Linked DNA regions of Homo sapiens: region 2 is linked to region 1. Evidence: promoter capture Hi-C in 16 types of primary human blood cells and fetal thymus (Javierre and others, 2016). All regions are on one chromosome and are shown on one strand. The core of a region is centred on a gene start or on the middle of the fragment in contact, and the rest is flanking DNA. Distances in the headings are between cores, read along the strand shown.

The links. The method cuts DNA at HindIII sites, captures the fragments that hold promoters and counts their contacts. A CHiCAGO score of 5 or more calls a contact.
Region 2: a fragment that was not itself captured here is called in contact with the fragment with the promoter of PTAR1 in region 1 in 4 of 17 cell types (total B cells, naive B cells, naive CD8 T cells and 1 more); the score reaches 12.9 in total B cells.

What each region holds. Positions count from the first base shown.
Region 1 is chr9:69,757,572-69,764,288 of GRCh38, forward strand. PTAR1 (protein prenyltransferase alpha subunit repeat containing 1) reads right to left here and starts at 2,440. Exons shown (of 8, transcript NM_001099666.2): 1 at 2,282-2,440. The coding sequence starts at 2,367. LOC105376076 (a long non-coding RNA gene) reads left to right here and starts at 2,524. Exons shown (of 4, transcript XR_929910.3): 1 at 2,524-2,902. RefSeq lists enhancers at 1,938-1,987, 3,462-4,317, 5,172-6,027, 6,028-6,717 and silencers at 2,128-2,597, 4,502-4,796. The HindIII fragment of the contact is 9,606 bases long and covers 1,702-6,717 here.
Region 2 is chr9:74,952,995-74,959,711 of GRCh38, forward strand. CARNMT1-AS1 (CARNMT1 antisense RNA 1) reads left to right here. Exons shown (of 5, transcript NR_121183.1): 1 at 1-123. Among named protein-coding and RNA genes, the nearest start is that of CARNMT1-AS1, 3.4 kb to the left of the region's middle. The HindIII fragment of the contact is 4,014 bases long and covers 507-4,520 here.

The DNA.
Region 1 (6,717 bases), core at 1,190-3,689:
CTCCTTCTGGCTAAATATTTCTACATAAACAAAGTCAATGTATTTAATGAAGTAGATGTTGGCCAATAAAATTACAACCGATCTTAAGTTTGGACAAGAAAAACAAAAAAATTTTTGTATAATACTGAAAGTGTAATTAGATACAGTAAAGTTAGATACAAACGTTACAGATAAACAATGCCTTAAAAAAAAAAAAAGAAACACAGCCTCTTTATTTTGGGAGTAAATGGGCTAAATTAAGGGAAGAAAGCGCAGGCAATTTTTAAAAGCCCAAATTATAAGGCACTTACAAAGATGCATAGTAATATTATTGAAAATAGTTTTACTGTGGGGAATATGTATTCAAATATAGCTGATGACTAGTCTTAAACAATGAGTTAAGCTATTTAAATGTTTAAGACCTATATTACAAATCATTACATTATTCCGAATATCCAACTTATCTCAAAGTTTTAAATCTCGAATGACCCAAATCCTTATTACTAATAAATTATACATTGAGGATATATTAATGAGGTTTTACAGTAGAAAAAGGATTAGGGAGGGGCATTAAAGTCCTTTAAGAGTTTCCATAAATGTGATCCACAAGAACTGGGACATGTTCCAAACTGCACTGTGTTAAAAACTGCCAAGCCAATGAACATTCAATCTTGGTTTCTTCAAATATAATGATGCTCTTTTAGTCTACCTCAAAGAAGAGAACATAAGATGATTACGACATTTTGTATTAGATTTCTAATCTCTGCTGTAATTTCTTCTAGAAAAATACCAGTGATGAGAAAATACACTCTTCATTTGTCCAACTTTTTTTTTTTTTGAGGTCGTCTCTTACTTGCACTAAGGCTCCCATTCTCAAAAAGAAATCGAAAGACTGATATACAGCAAGGCATCAAAGCATTCTTTAGAAGGCTCAGCAACCACTATGGATACTGCCAGGAAATCATTCCAAACACTCTCATTTTGAAAAAGGCAGCAGTCATAAGGGGGAGGGAAGTGGATGCTGTCAGAGGTGGCAGGTGTGTTTTGAGGCCAGCAGTGTTTTGTTTTTAATGTGGCACAGTTGCACGTCTCCAATTGTGTGCCACAAGGGAGCAAAACATCCAACGGCTTCTTAACTGTTTTACAATCATCACCTTGGAGGAAAAGAACACTTTGGTAAGATACACGTTTGGCAACTTTTTTAGGCAGAAAAGCTGAACCGGTTAGAATACTTAAAAAAAAAAATCATGAGCTCCAGTCTAAAGAATAAAATAAAAATAAATTAAATAATAATAAAAAATAATAAACTAAAAAAAAAAAAAATAAACTCCAAAAACAACTAGCTAAAATGAAAGTAATGCAGAACTGGATGCCATGTTTCTTTTCTTTGAGGAGGAAGAGGTATGGGAAAGGAGGTACATTGTTGCTTCTTCCCTACACCTTTGTATAATGTAGATCTCTCTCTCTCTCTCAATAGCTTTCTTTTCACTTGTTACATAAAAGCAAAGTGTTACAAAAAGTAGACTCTTGCGGTATCTTCCCACAGTACTTCAAGTAAAATGGAAGAGATACATATGTCAGTTCTGCAGTGTCCCGTTAAAGAGGGCAGCAGTGTTGGGATAAAAATGAGTTAACATGCTCCTTGTAACTATGAATCCGCTTATGCTAAAAAGTATCAAGGTTTCATTTGCTTTATCCCAGACTCCACACTGCGCCCACAGAAGCTTCTCTTGAGAATGTTCTGTTCACCTTTCAAAACACAATGTATTATCGGAGTCACTTTACAATTTTGTGGCAAGTAAGGCTAAAGTCAAAAGCAGCCTCAAACCACCTTTAGTTAGTAAACTGAGGGGTTTGAGGCTCATTAAAAGTAAGAGGATCGGTTACCCCCTCTTGCCAACGTCCGGGATGAATCTCAAGAGTTGTGTTTACAAGGCATACACGGACCCACATCGTTGTGTGCGCCCGAGTACCTTAAACACAGGAAGGATGTCGACCTACGGGGGACGTCTCTGGAGTTTCGTGAACTCCTATGAAAAGGTGGGGAGGGACAGAGAAAGTAGTTCCGTTTTGATTTTTTGAGGTCACTTCTAGGGACTCGACCGCGAGCGCGTCCCGGTAGCGGAAAGCCGGGCCAGCGGCGGCCGACAACGGTCCCGCCCGACACGGCTCTGCCTCCTCCCTAGAAGGGCTCGTGGGCCAGGACCCGCTGTCCGCCCGCCGCCCGAGGTCGGGTGGACGCTTGGCCCCGCCCCCGCCCGCTCCCGACGACCCTCGGAGGCGGCGGAGGCGCGCGACTCACATGTGTGGGTTCCTCCTGAAGGCGTTAGTGATGTCCTTCACAACCCGCTGCACCAGCACCGCCACCTCCTCGCTGGTCTCGGCCATGTTGGCGGCGGCCGCGACAGTTCGGGCGCGCCTCCGCGTGAGCCGGGCCGCCGGCGGGAGTTCCGCGGAGAACGAGCGCGCGCGCGCGCGCGCGGGTGCTTCGGCTAGGCCGCGTCCCCGCCGCCGCGGCCGCCGCCGAGCACTTCCGGGTCAGCCAGTTGGCGGCCTGGGCGTGGCGTTAGCTAGGGTTGGTGGCCTTCCAGTGAGTGGAGAAGTTCGCCTCCGCGCGGGTAACGGACTTTCTAAGCGTCAGAGAAGATGCTGGACATTTGTTTGCAAAGTTCTCTCAGGCCTCCGATTTTCTTATTTTAAGTTTTAGGCGAAACCTCAAGACACACTCCCAGAGAGTCAGACACCTTCCTGAACCCCCCCAGCAAGGTCCCCGGGCATTCCTGAAGGAATGTTCAACTGAGGATGCAGGGCCTCTTAACAGTTAGTCCCGGGCGTTTTTCAGAGCTTGTCTGCTTTATTTTCCCAGCCTGAGAGATGAAGAGGTCCAGAGGCATTGCGGCGGAGCGAGTCCCTATTTGACCGTGTTGGTGACCTCCTTTCTAACTGTGCCAATTTTTGTCTCTGAACTTGAAAGCAGCCTTTTTAAAAAACATTAATTAAAATTCTTAAATTTATTAAAGGAAGAGAAAGGAAAGTGAAGGAAAAGTTATTTGCCATCTGTATGTAGGAAGTAGAAGTGAAATCGTTTTTAGATTTTTCGACTTCATTTTGTACTGCATTTGGTAGCCTTTGCGTCAATTTTGGAATTTAAAAAAAAGGATCAAGGCTCTGACAGGGTTTGTTCATAATAGCAAAAATAAATTTTTGTAGGAAAAACGAGCTTTCTAGTTTATTTAGGATTTTGAAATGCCATAACTAAAATTTTTGTGTATCAGGTTTTCTTTTGCACCTCTGGTAGAAAAATCTGGCTGCCCTTGGTTCAGTTTTATTCTTCCACCCTTGAAATCTGGCCAGGTGCGGTGGCTCACGCCTGTAATCCCAGCACTTTGGGGGGCCAAGGCGGGCGGATCACAAGGTCAGGAGATCGAGACCATCCTGGCTAACACGGTGAAACCCCGTCTCTACTAAAAATACAAAAAAAAAAAAAAAAAAAAAAAAGCCGGGCGTGGTGGCGGGCGCCTGTAATCCCAGCTACTCCCCACTGCACTCCAGCCTGGGCGACAGAGCGAGACTCCGTCTTTAAAAAAAGGCCGGGCGCGGTGGCTCACGCCTGTAATCCCAGCACCTTGGGAGGCCGAGGCGGGTGGATCATGAGGTCAGGAGATCGAGACCATCCTGGCTAACAAGGTGAAACCCCGTCTCTACTAAAAATACAAAAAATTAGCTGGGCGCGGTGGCGGGCGCCTGTAGTCCCAGCTACTCGGGAGGCTGAGGCAGGAGAATGGCGTGAACCCGGGAAGCGGAGCTTGCAGTGAGCCGAGATTGCGCCACTGCAGTCCGCAGTCCGGCCTGGGCGACAGAGCGAGACTCTGTCTCAAAAAAAAAAAAAAAGAAATCTGTATCTTTAAAAAGCTATTAAAAAAATAAACTCATGGTGTGTTTAATGTGAACATATGCGGAGCGTTTGAAGTAGTTTTTATGATTGTAAAAGTAAAAGCTATCTATTGCATGTAAAGTGAATGAGAAATATAAACGAAAAATATAAATTTACTATACTCAGTGGCCAGTATTTCCTGTGGGTATGTTTATAAAGGCTGGAGTTAGCCTTCTGGTTGTAAAAGAAGTGAGATAGGACCGGGCACGGTGGCTTACACCTGTAATCCCAGCACTTTGGGAGGCAGAGGCGGAAGGATCACGAGGTCAGGAGTTCGAGACCATCGTGGCCAAGACAGTGAAACGCCGTCTCTACTAAAAATATAAAATTAGCTGGGCGTGGTGGCACGTGCTTGTAATCCCAGCTACTTGGGAGGCTGAGGCAGGAGAAGCGCTTGAACGCGGAAGTAGGAGGTTGCAGTGAGTGGAGATCGCGCCACTGCCCTCCAGCCTGGCGACAGAGCAAGACTCCATCTAAAAAAAAAAAAAAAGAAGTGAGATAGAAGTTTCACAAAATTGTAGCCAGCAAGGTGGGACAGGATTAAGAATTAGTAAAGTCGGCCGGGCACGGTGTCTCACGCCTGTAATCCCAGCACTTTGGGAGGCCGAGGCGGGTGGATACCTGAGATCAGGAGTTTGAGACCAGCCTGGCCAACAGGGTGAAACCCCGTCTCTACTTAAAATACAAAATTAGCTGGGCGTCGTGGTGCATGCCTGTAGCTCCAGCTACTTGGGAGGCTGAGGCAGGAGAATCGCTTGAACCCGGGAGACGCACGTTGCAGTAAGCCAAGACTGTGCCCTGCACTCCAGCCTGGGCAACAAAAGCGAAATGCCATCTCAAAAAAAAAAAAAAAAAAAAAAGAAAGAAAAAAAAAGAGTTAGTAAAATCAATCAAAATTTAACCGATAACAAGTTCTGGAGTGAAGCAGTGAAAAGAGTGGAATGTGTGTTTAGATTTCAAGGCAAAAGACAACTTTAAATATCCTGATTAAGAATGTAAGACCAGTTCTTAAATTAAAATTCTTAAACTTAGTAAGTTTTCTTAATCAGGACCTTGCATCCTAATGGCAGTGGGAAATAAATCCCAATTTCTGGAGGCAGAGATCAAAGCAGCACACTCAGAAATAATGATTTTCCCCGAAAGGCTTTATTTAACAGGGAAAAAAGAAAACTTTGTCCCCAAATTTTGATGTAAAACAGCTATTTCAGAAACAGAATTCCTCTGTATGATTCTGTGTATGCCCTCTCCACATGCAACCTCTTTATAGTCATTTGAAAGGCATGCATTGTATCTTGTTTCCTCTAAGAATTCACAAATTGTTTTACCCCAATTATTAAGAATCTACTATGTTTAGAACTTGTTTTTTTTTTTAGAATTGGAGCATAATTAGAACTCTGAGCCAACTCTCTAATTTTACAGATAAGAAAACAGAAGTCCAAAGGATTTAAGATTTGAAATTCATAAATCCTCAATAATGATATATATGTATACAAGAATAGGGCATAATAAATTCAGCGTGATTTTGTCGAAGGACTACAAGATTTATGTTCATTTATTGATAATAAAATACAGTAAATAACTTAAATGCCCAATGAGAGGGGATTGATTAAATTATAAATTTATATGGTAAGATGCTATTTAGTATTTGAAAATGTAGGGGTGGGTTGCCCCTACACACTTGTGGGTGTTTCTCGTAAGGTGGGACGAGAGATTTGGAAAAGAAAAAGACACAGAGACAAAGTATAGAGAAAGAAATAAGGGGACCCGGGGAACCAGCGTTCAGCATATGGAGGATCCCGCCAGCCTCTGAGTTCCCTTAGTATTTATTGATCATCTGTGGGTGTTTCTCAAAGAGGGGGATGTGTCAGGGTCACAAGACAATTGTGGGGAGAGGGTCAGCAGACAAACACGTGAACAAAGGTCTTTGCATCATAGACAATGTAAAGGATTAAGTGCTGTGCTTTTAGATATGCATACACATAAACATCTCAATGCTTTACAAAGCAGTATTGCTGCCCGCAGGTCCCACCTCCAGCCCTAAGGCAGTTTTTCCCTATCTCAGTAGATGCAGCATACAATCGGGTTTTATACCGAGACATTCCATTGCCCAGGGACAGGCAGGAGACAGATGCCTTCCTCTTGTCTCAACTGCAAGAGGCATTCCTTCCTCTTTTACTAATCCTCCTCAGCACAGACCCTTTACGGGTGTCGGGCTGGGGGACGGTCAGGTCTTTCCCTTCCCACGAGGCCATATTTCAGACTATCACATGGGGAGAAACCTTGGACAATACCTGGCTTTCCTAGGCAGAGGTCCCTGCGGACTTCCGCAGTTTTTGTGTCCCTGGGTACTTGAGATTAGGGAGTGGTGATGACTCTTAACGAGCATGCTGCCTTCAAGCATCTGTTTAACAAAGCACATCTTGCACCGCCCTTAATCCATTCAACTCTGAGTTGACACAGCACATGTTTCAGAGAGCACGGGGTTGGGGGTAAGGTTATAGATTAACAGGATCTCAAGGCAGAAGAATTTCTCCTAGTACATAACAAAATGGAGTCTCCTATGTCTACTTCTTTCTACACAGACACAGTAACAATCTGATCTCTCTTGCTTTTCCCCACATGAAAATCACATTATAACTAGAGGAATATATACCAAAGTGTTAGAGGTATTTTCATAGGACAATTTGACTATGTAATGTAAAGAGCAAAGTAACATTTGTAATTTAAGAATTTTTTTTTTTTTGAGACGGATTCTCACTCTGTCGTGCAGGCTGCAGTGCAGTGGTACAGGTTCAAGCGATTCT
Region 2 (6,717 bases), core at 1,264-3,763, 5.2 Mb after region 1:
GGGGTAGGCGGGAAGGCCGCGGCGGGATTAATTAAAGACCCGATCAAGCGGCCCGCAGAGGGGCGTGACCTTGTTTCCTCAGGAGTGTGGCGGTGGTCTTACTACTATGTTCGTTATAGCGCGGTACGTTCTAGACCCTTCTATAGGAAATTTAAAACCTTTAAAATGTGTATTTCCTTCCTCCAGTCAGTGACCACGGGGGCGTCTCCATGAGATTAAGACAAAGATTATAATAGAGTTCCAGACTATCCTGGGCAACATAGCAAGACCTCGTCTCTACAAAAAATCAAAAATAGGCCAGGCTTGTTGGCCTGCCCCTGTGGTCCCAGCTACTCGGGAGGCTGAGGAGGAAGATTCACTTGAGCCTGGGAGGTGGAGGCTGTAGTGAGCCAGAGATCGCACCACTACACTGCAGCCTGGGCAACAGAGCGAGATGCCGTCTCAAAAAAAAAAAAAAAAAAAAGGAAAAGGATAATACAAGCTTTAAATAAAACTAGTGTTTAAGAAGCTTCACAGTAGGTTGTTATTCAAAACAAAAGACTGAAGGGAGTCTGGGCTGAGGGAAGTAGCTAAAGCTAACAGAAAACACAAATCGAAGTGTATGTTTTGCATGTTTTGCGCAGCTGCTGTGGAAGGTGAAGCAGGCCCTACATTCCTGGAAGATCTCTTGATTAAAAACTTATGGAGGAAGTTACAGACAAAATGTGCAGCTCATCCAAAATAGCTGAGTAGTTGGCAAGAACCAAGCCTGAAGCGCAGCTGTCCTTTCTAACTGAAACCTAAAATTGTTGGGCTCTTAATTAATGTTGGAAGGCTGAGTTCCCTGCTTACTATGGGCGGTGGTCAGATCAAGATTCTATGGCCATTACAGCAAAATAGTGTTGTCAGGTGAAGTGAGGTGGAGACAATTGCAGTATATTTACTATTTTATTATTTTTATTTTTTATTTTGTTTGAGACAGGGTCTCTCTCGGCCACCTAGGCGGGAGTGCAGTGGTGCCATCACGGCTCACTGCAGCCGGGCCCCACTGAGCTCAAGCGATCTCCTGTCTGGGCCTCCCAAAGTGCTTGGTTTATAGGTGTGAGCCACCGCATCTGGTCGTATTTACTATTTTAATAGTTTGATAAAGACAGTAACCAAGTAAGCAGAAATGGAAGGAAGAAAATAAGACTATTACCAGTGCTTTGAAGGGAAAAACTATCATCCTCTGTAGAAAAAGTGTGCAAGAAAGATAATTCTATTTTAGTGCTAGGTACTATCTCAGTACTAATTTACCCTGTACCCCTGCATCTCAAGGTGGTTGTGAGAGGACAAGTTAATTATTAGTTATTAACAAGCACAGAAATGTACCAAGTTAGGGTAGTAAGCAATAGCTTTTCTGTTTGGTTTTTACTTTTCTTGTTTGAAATTGGTAACCGGCCGGGTGCGGTGGCTCACGTCTTTAATCCCAGCACTTTTGGGAAGATGAGGTGCACAGATCACCTGAGCCCAGGAGTTCCATACCAGCCTGGCCAACATGGTGAAACCCCATCTCTACAGAAAATACAAAAATTAGCCAGAGGTGGTGCCTTGCACCTGTAGTCCCAGGGAGGCTGAGGTGGGAGGATCGCTTGAACCCTGGAGGCAGAGGCCAAGATTGCACCACTGTACTTCCAGCCTGGGTGACAGTGTGAGACCCTGTCTCCAAAAAAAAAAAAATAAATTGAAAACCCGTCTGTCTCAAACAGAGGAAGAGTTTTGCCATTTTTAAATCAGCAGGAAAGATCTTAATCGTAGTCATCAAGTGCTGTTTGAAAGGTTTTGAGTACCCCCAAAATAATAAGTTTAGCTAATGGTTGGTTCTTTTGTGTTCCTCTTTACAAACGCTCATTTTTTCAAAATTGTGAAACTTATCATATATGCAAAAGGTTGTATAAAATACACATGTAGTTAAAAGAATGATAGTAAGACATACAGCATTCTGTTTCAGAAATAGAATACTACCTATACTAGAACATGACAAGCTCCCTATGCGTCCCTTCCCCACTGGCACATACCCTTCCCTTTCCCTCACTCCCGGTAATTACCGTTTTACATGTTGAGTTAATCATTCCTTTGCTTTTTAACTCTTCCATTTGTATGTCTGTATGTATATTGCTAAATAACTTTTTTTTTTTTTTTTTTGAAACGGGGCTTGCTCTGTTGCCCTGGCTGGAGAGCAGTGATATGATTACAGCTCACTGCAGCCCTGACCTCTCAGGGGCAAGCAGTCCTCCCACCTCAGCCTCCTGAGTAGCTGAGACTACAGGTGTACATCACCACACCCAGCTAATTTTTAAAATTTTTTTGTAGAGCCAGGGTTTTGCCACGTTGCCCAGACTTGTCTCAAAGTCCTGAACTCAAACAATCTGCCTGCCCTGGCCTCCCAAAGTGTTGGGATTACAGGCATGAGCCACCACACCCAGCTTAATATATTTTCTGAGACCAGGTCTTGCTCTGTTGCCCAGGCTGGAATGTAGTGGCGTGATCACTGCTCACTGCAGCTTCAACTTCCTGGCCTCAAGCAATCCTCCTGCCTCAGCCTCCCAAGTAGCTGGGCCCATGGCTTGTGCCACCACACCCAGCTAATTTTTTATTTTTAGTAGCAACAAGGTCTCACTATGTTGCCCAGGCTTGTTTTGCCGGGCTTTTTTTTGTTTTTGTTTTTAAAACAGCTTTACCTAGGTCTAAATGACACACAATAATGTGCATATAAAGTGTACAATTTGACATTCATACACCTGTGAAACCATAACCACCATCAAGATGATCAAAGTTTTGAGAGCAGTCTTTGACATCTTGTTCTTTAGGAGTGTGTCAACTATACTTGGCCCTTTGTTCTTCCATAATAGCATCCTCTGTAACATTTAGTTACCCTTTTGGAATTTTGGTTATAATTGCATTGAGATTATAGATCAATTTGGGAAGAATTATTATCTTTACAATACCAAGCTCATTTCCTGTTCAAGAATATAACTATTTAAGTTTTTAAAAATCTTTCAATAAAGTTTTATATTTCTCAACATAAAGAGCTTATATCTTTGTTAAGTTTATCCCTAGGCACTTTATAATTTTTGTAGACAATATTCTTTTTCTTTTTAAATAACATTTTCTGAGTTTTTGTTGCTGCTCTGGGTTCTTTTTTTTTTAAGGCCCCAGAAGTAGAATTTGAAATTAGTTTACCCTAAGTTGTAAGTAGTACCAGATCCACTTGTTCAAGGAATTTGTCCATTTCATTCATCACATTTGTTGGAATATTTTCTTAGTTTCTCTTTTTCCCATTTCATTGGCTTCTACTAAATTTGGATTTACTTTGCTCTTCTTTCTCTAGCTTCTTCTAATAGAACCTAGGTCACTGATTGTAGTCTTTGTTAGTTTCTTTTTGGAGACAGAGTCACTCTGGCTGGAGTGAAGTGGCACGATCTTGGCTCACTGCAGCCTCTGCCTCCCAGGTTCAAGCGATTCTCCTGCCTCAGCCTCCCGAGTAGCTGGGACTACAGGTGCATGCCACCGCACCTGGCTAATTTTTGCATTTTTAGTAGAGGTGGGGTTTCACCATGCTAGCCAGCTTGGTCTCAAACTCCTGACTTCAGGTGATCCACCCACCTCGGCCTCCCAAAGTGCTGGGATTACAGGCGTGAGCCACCGTGCCCAGCCGTCTTTGTTAGTTTCTAAAATAAACACTTAAAGCTGTAACTTTCCCTGTAGCACTGCTTGGGCTACATCCTACAAATTTTGGTATGTTGTATTTTTATTATCTTTCAGTTTGAAATACTTTCAAAATTTCCTTTCTTGTTACTCTACCTCCTTCCTATCGTTATGAATTTCATTTTAAGTTAACCTATTGGTATTTACTTAGCTATACCTCTTTGAATTAATAATGTGGTTGCCATAAGGACTGTTCATATACATCTTTATTTTTTCACAGTCTAGTTCGAGCTAACATTGTACCACTTTATGTAAAACATAAATACCTTGCACCCCTCCCCCTGCCCTATCTAAATGCATTTTTTATTGATGTAATAGGATCTTCTACCTATTCTACATATCCCATAATTTTGTGGATAATAACTCAGAAGTCATTAGTTACAACAAAACAACAAAGAAGGGAAACTTTTTTTCTTCTTACTGAAAAAGGAATACACACAAACTTATTCTGCTTATCTTTAAACTTGTGTGTTTCAGACTAACTGAAGCCTCACAGCAGTGTAGGGTGGGGAAGTAGTTTAAAATTTTTTAATTGCCAGAACTTTTACATATCTCATTTGATCCCAAAAACTTTGGGGCAGATTATTGCCAGTTTAACAGATAAACCTCTCCTCTGAGCATCAGATCCATGTGACTTCTCATGAGTCTACCTTAACCACCTTATTTAAAATTGCAACTCACTCTACATTTCTCCTGACTCTTGATTCCCCTCTTTTCCCATAGCATGATTACTTTCTAATCTATTATATATTTCACTTACTTATTACTCTTATTGTCTCCCTTTCTAGAAAGTAAGCTTGTTGAAGGTAGGGTTCCAGTTTGTTTTTTGGGTTTTGTCCCCAGTCATATACTCAAAGTGACTAGCATGGTAGGTGCTCAGTAAATATTCGTTGCCTGAATGAGTGTCCATTATTTCCATCTGGGTGTTCTGTAGGCATCTCATATTCCATCCTCCAGTGTCATCAGTCATCTATACAGGTACCCATACCAGAAATATAACTGTATTCTTTCATAATCACATTCACTCAATTTATTCTTTGAATACATATTTTAAGCATCTGCTACAGACCAGGCACTGGGTTACAACAGTAAAACAAAAATCCCTACCCCATGACTGTCCAAGGAATCTTGGGGGAGACAGACAATAAATAAGCACATCTATCAGGTGGTGCTGAGGAAAAATAAAAATAAGGCAGGATAAAAGGTCAAGATGGGCATCTCTGACAAGACTTTTGGGCCAAGACCTGAGGAAAGTGAGGGGGGGCAAATCATGTGATCCTAGTCAGATGTAATAGCAAGTATGAATGTCCAAAAGTGTAAAATAGCAAAAGCATGAGCAAAGGATGGCAAAAAAACAAAAACAAAACAAAACAAAACAAAAACCCAGTGCTGCCTTTTCCTCAATGTTTTGTTTTGGGTAGTGTCTGTTTCTTCAAGTTCACTAGTTCGTTCTCTTGTACCTTATCTGCTGTTAACCCCACACACTATTTTTTCATCCTACACAATGTACTTTTCATCTCTAGTTCCATTTGGGTCTTTTTTTCTATCTTCCAAATCTAGGTAACTTTTTGAACATATGGAATACAGTTATTCTGTTTTAATGCTCTCTGCTAATTCTGACATCTGTGTCAGGTCTGGTTTGGGTTCACCTGATCTTTCTCCTCTCTATGGGTCGTGTTATCCAGCATACCTGGTATTGTGTTTGTCAGCATACCTGGTAGTTTCTGATCAGACACCAGATATTTTTTTACTTTGTTGGGTGCTATTTTTGTATTTCAATAAGTATTCTTGAGATTTATTCTAGGATGCTGTTAAGTACATAGACATAGTTTGACCCATTTGGATCTTGCTTACAAGATTTGTCAAGTGGGACCTGAGCTTTTTTAATCTAGGGCTAATGACTCCACATTACCAAGGCAAGACTTCTCTGTACCACACCTAGTGCCCTACACATTTTGAGGTTTTATAGTCTGGGTGTGAGAACAAACACTCTGGCCCTGTGTGGGCCCTGGCTACTGTTCTGATACTTCAGGTGCTTTTTTTCTCTGGCCATGGTTTGTTTTCTCACACATGCACTGATCAGTAGTACTCTGAAGATTACTCAAGGGGCACTGTCCTCATATCTCCAGTGTTCTATGTGCAGCTACCAATGTTTGTATCATATTGGTTATTAAAATTTTAATAAGTGATTTTGTGTGGATAAGGATATGCAGAAACAGATGCTCTCTTTGTTTTAAAGTGTAAGTTAGTATAACCTTTTAAGAGAGCAATCTGGGCAGGGTGTGGTGGCTCATGCCTGTAATCCCAGCACTTTGGGAGGCCAAGCCGGGTGGATCACTTGAGGTCAGGAGTTTGAGACCAGTCTGACCAATGTGGTGAAACCCCATCTCTACTAAAAAATACAAAATTAGCCAGGCGTGGGGGCATGCGGCTGTAATCCCAGCTACTTGGGAGACTGAGGCAGGAGAATTGCTTGAACCCGGGAGGCGGAGGTTGCAGTAAGCCAAGATCGCACCATTGCCACTACAGCCTGGGCAGCAACAAGAGCGAAATTCCATCTCAAAAAAAAAAAAAAAAGAGCAATCTGACAATATCTGTAAAAATTAAAAAATACACACACACATTCTGAAACTGTAACTCTAGGAACTTATACTCCAGATATACTACTGACAATAGACATAAACAACTATGTACAGGATTATTACATTGTGGCATAATGCTACATAGCAAAAGATTGAAAACAACCGAATGTTACTTATTAGTAAAGTATGGCCTATATTATGTATTATATTAATAATATTAGTATAATACATATAATATGGATTTTATGTATAATGGAATGCTTTTTTTTTTTTTTTTTTTGAGTCAGAGTCTTGCTCTGTCACCCAGGCTGGAGTGCAGTGGCGCGCGATCTCGGTTCACTGCAATCTCTGCCTCCTGGGTTCAAGCAATTCTCCTGCCTCAGCTTCCCAAATAGCTGGGATTACAGGC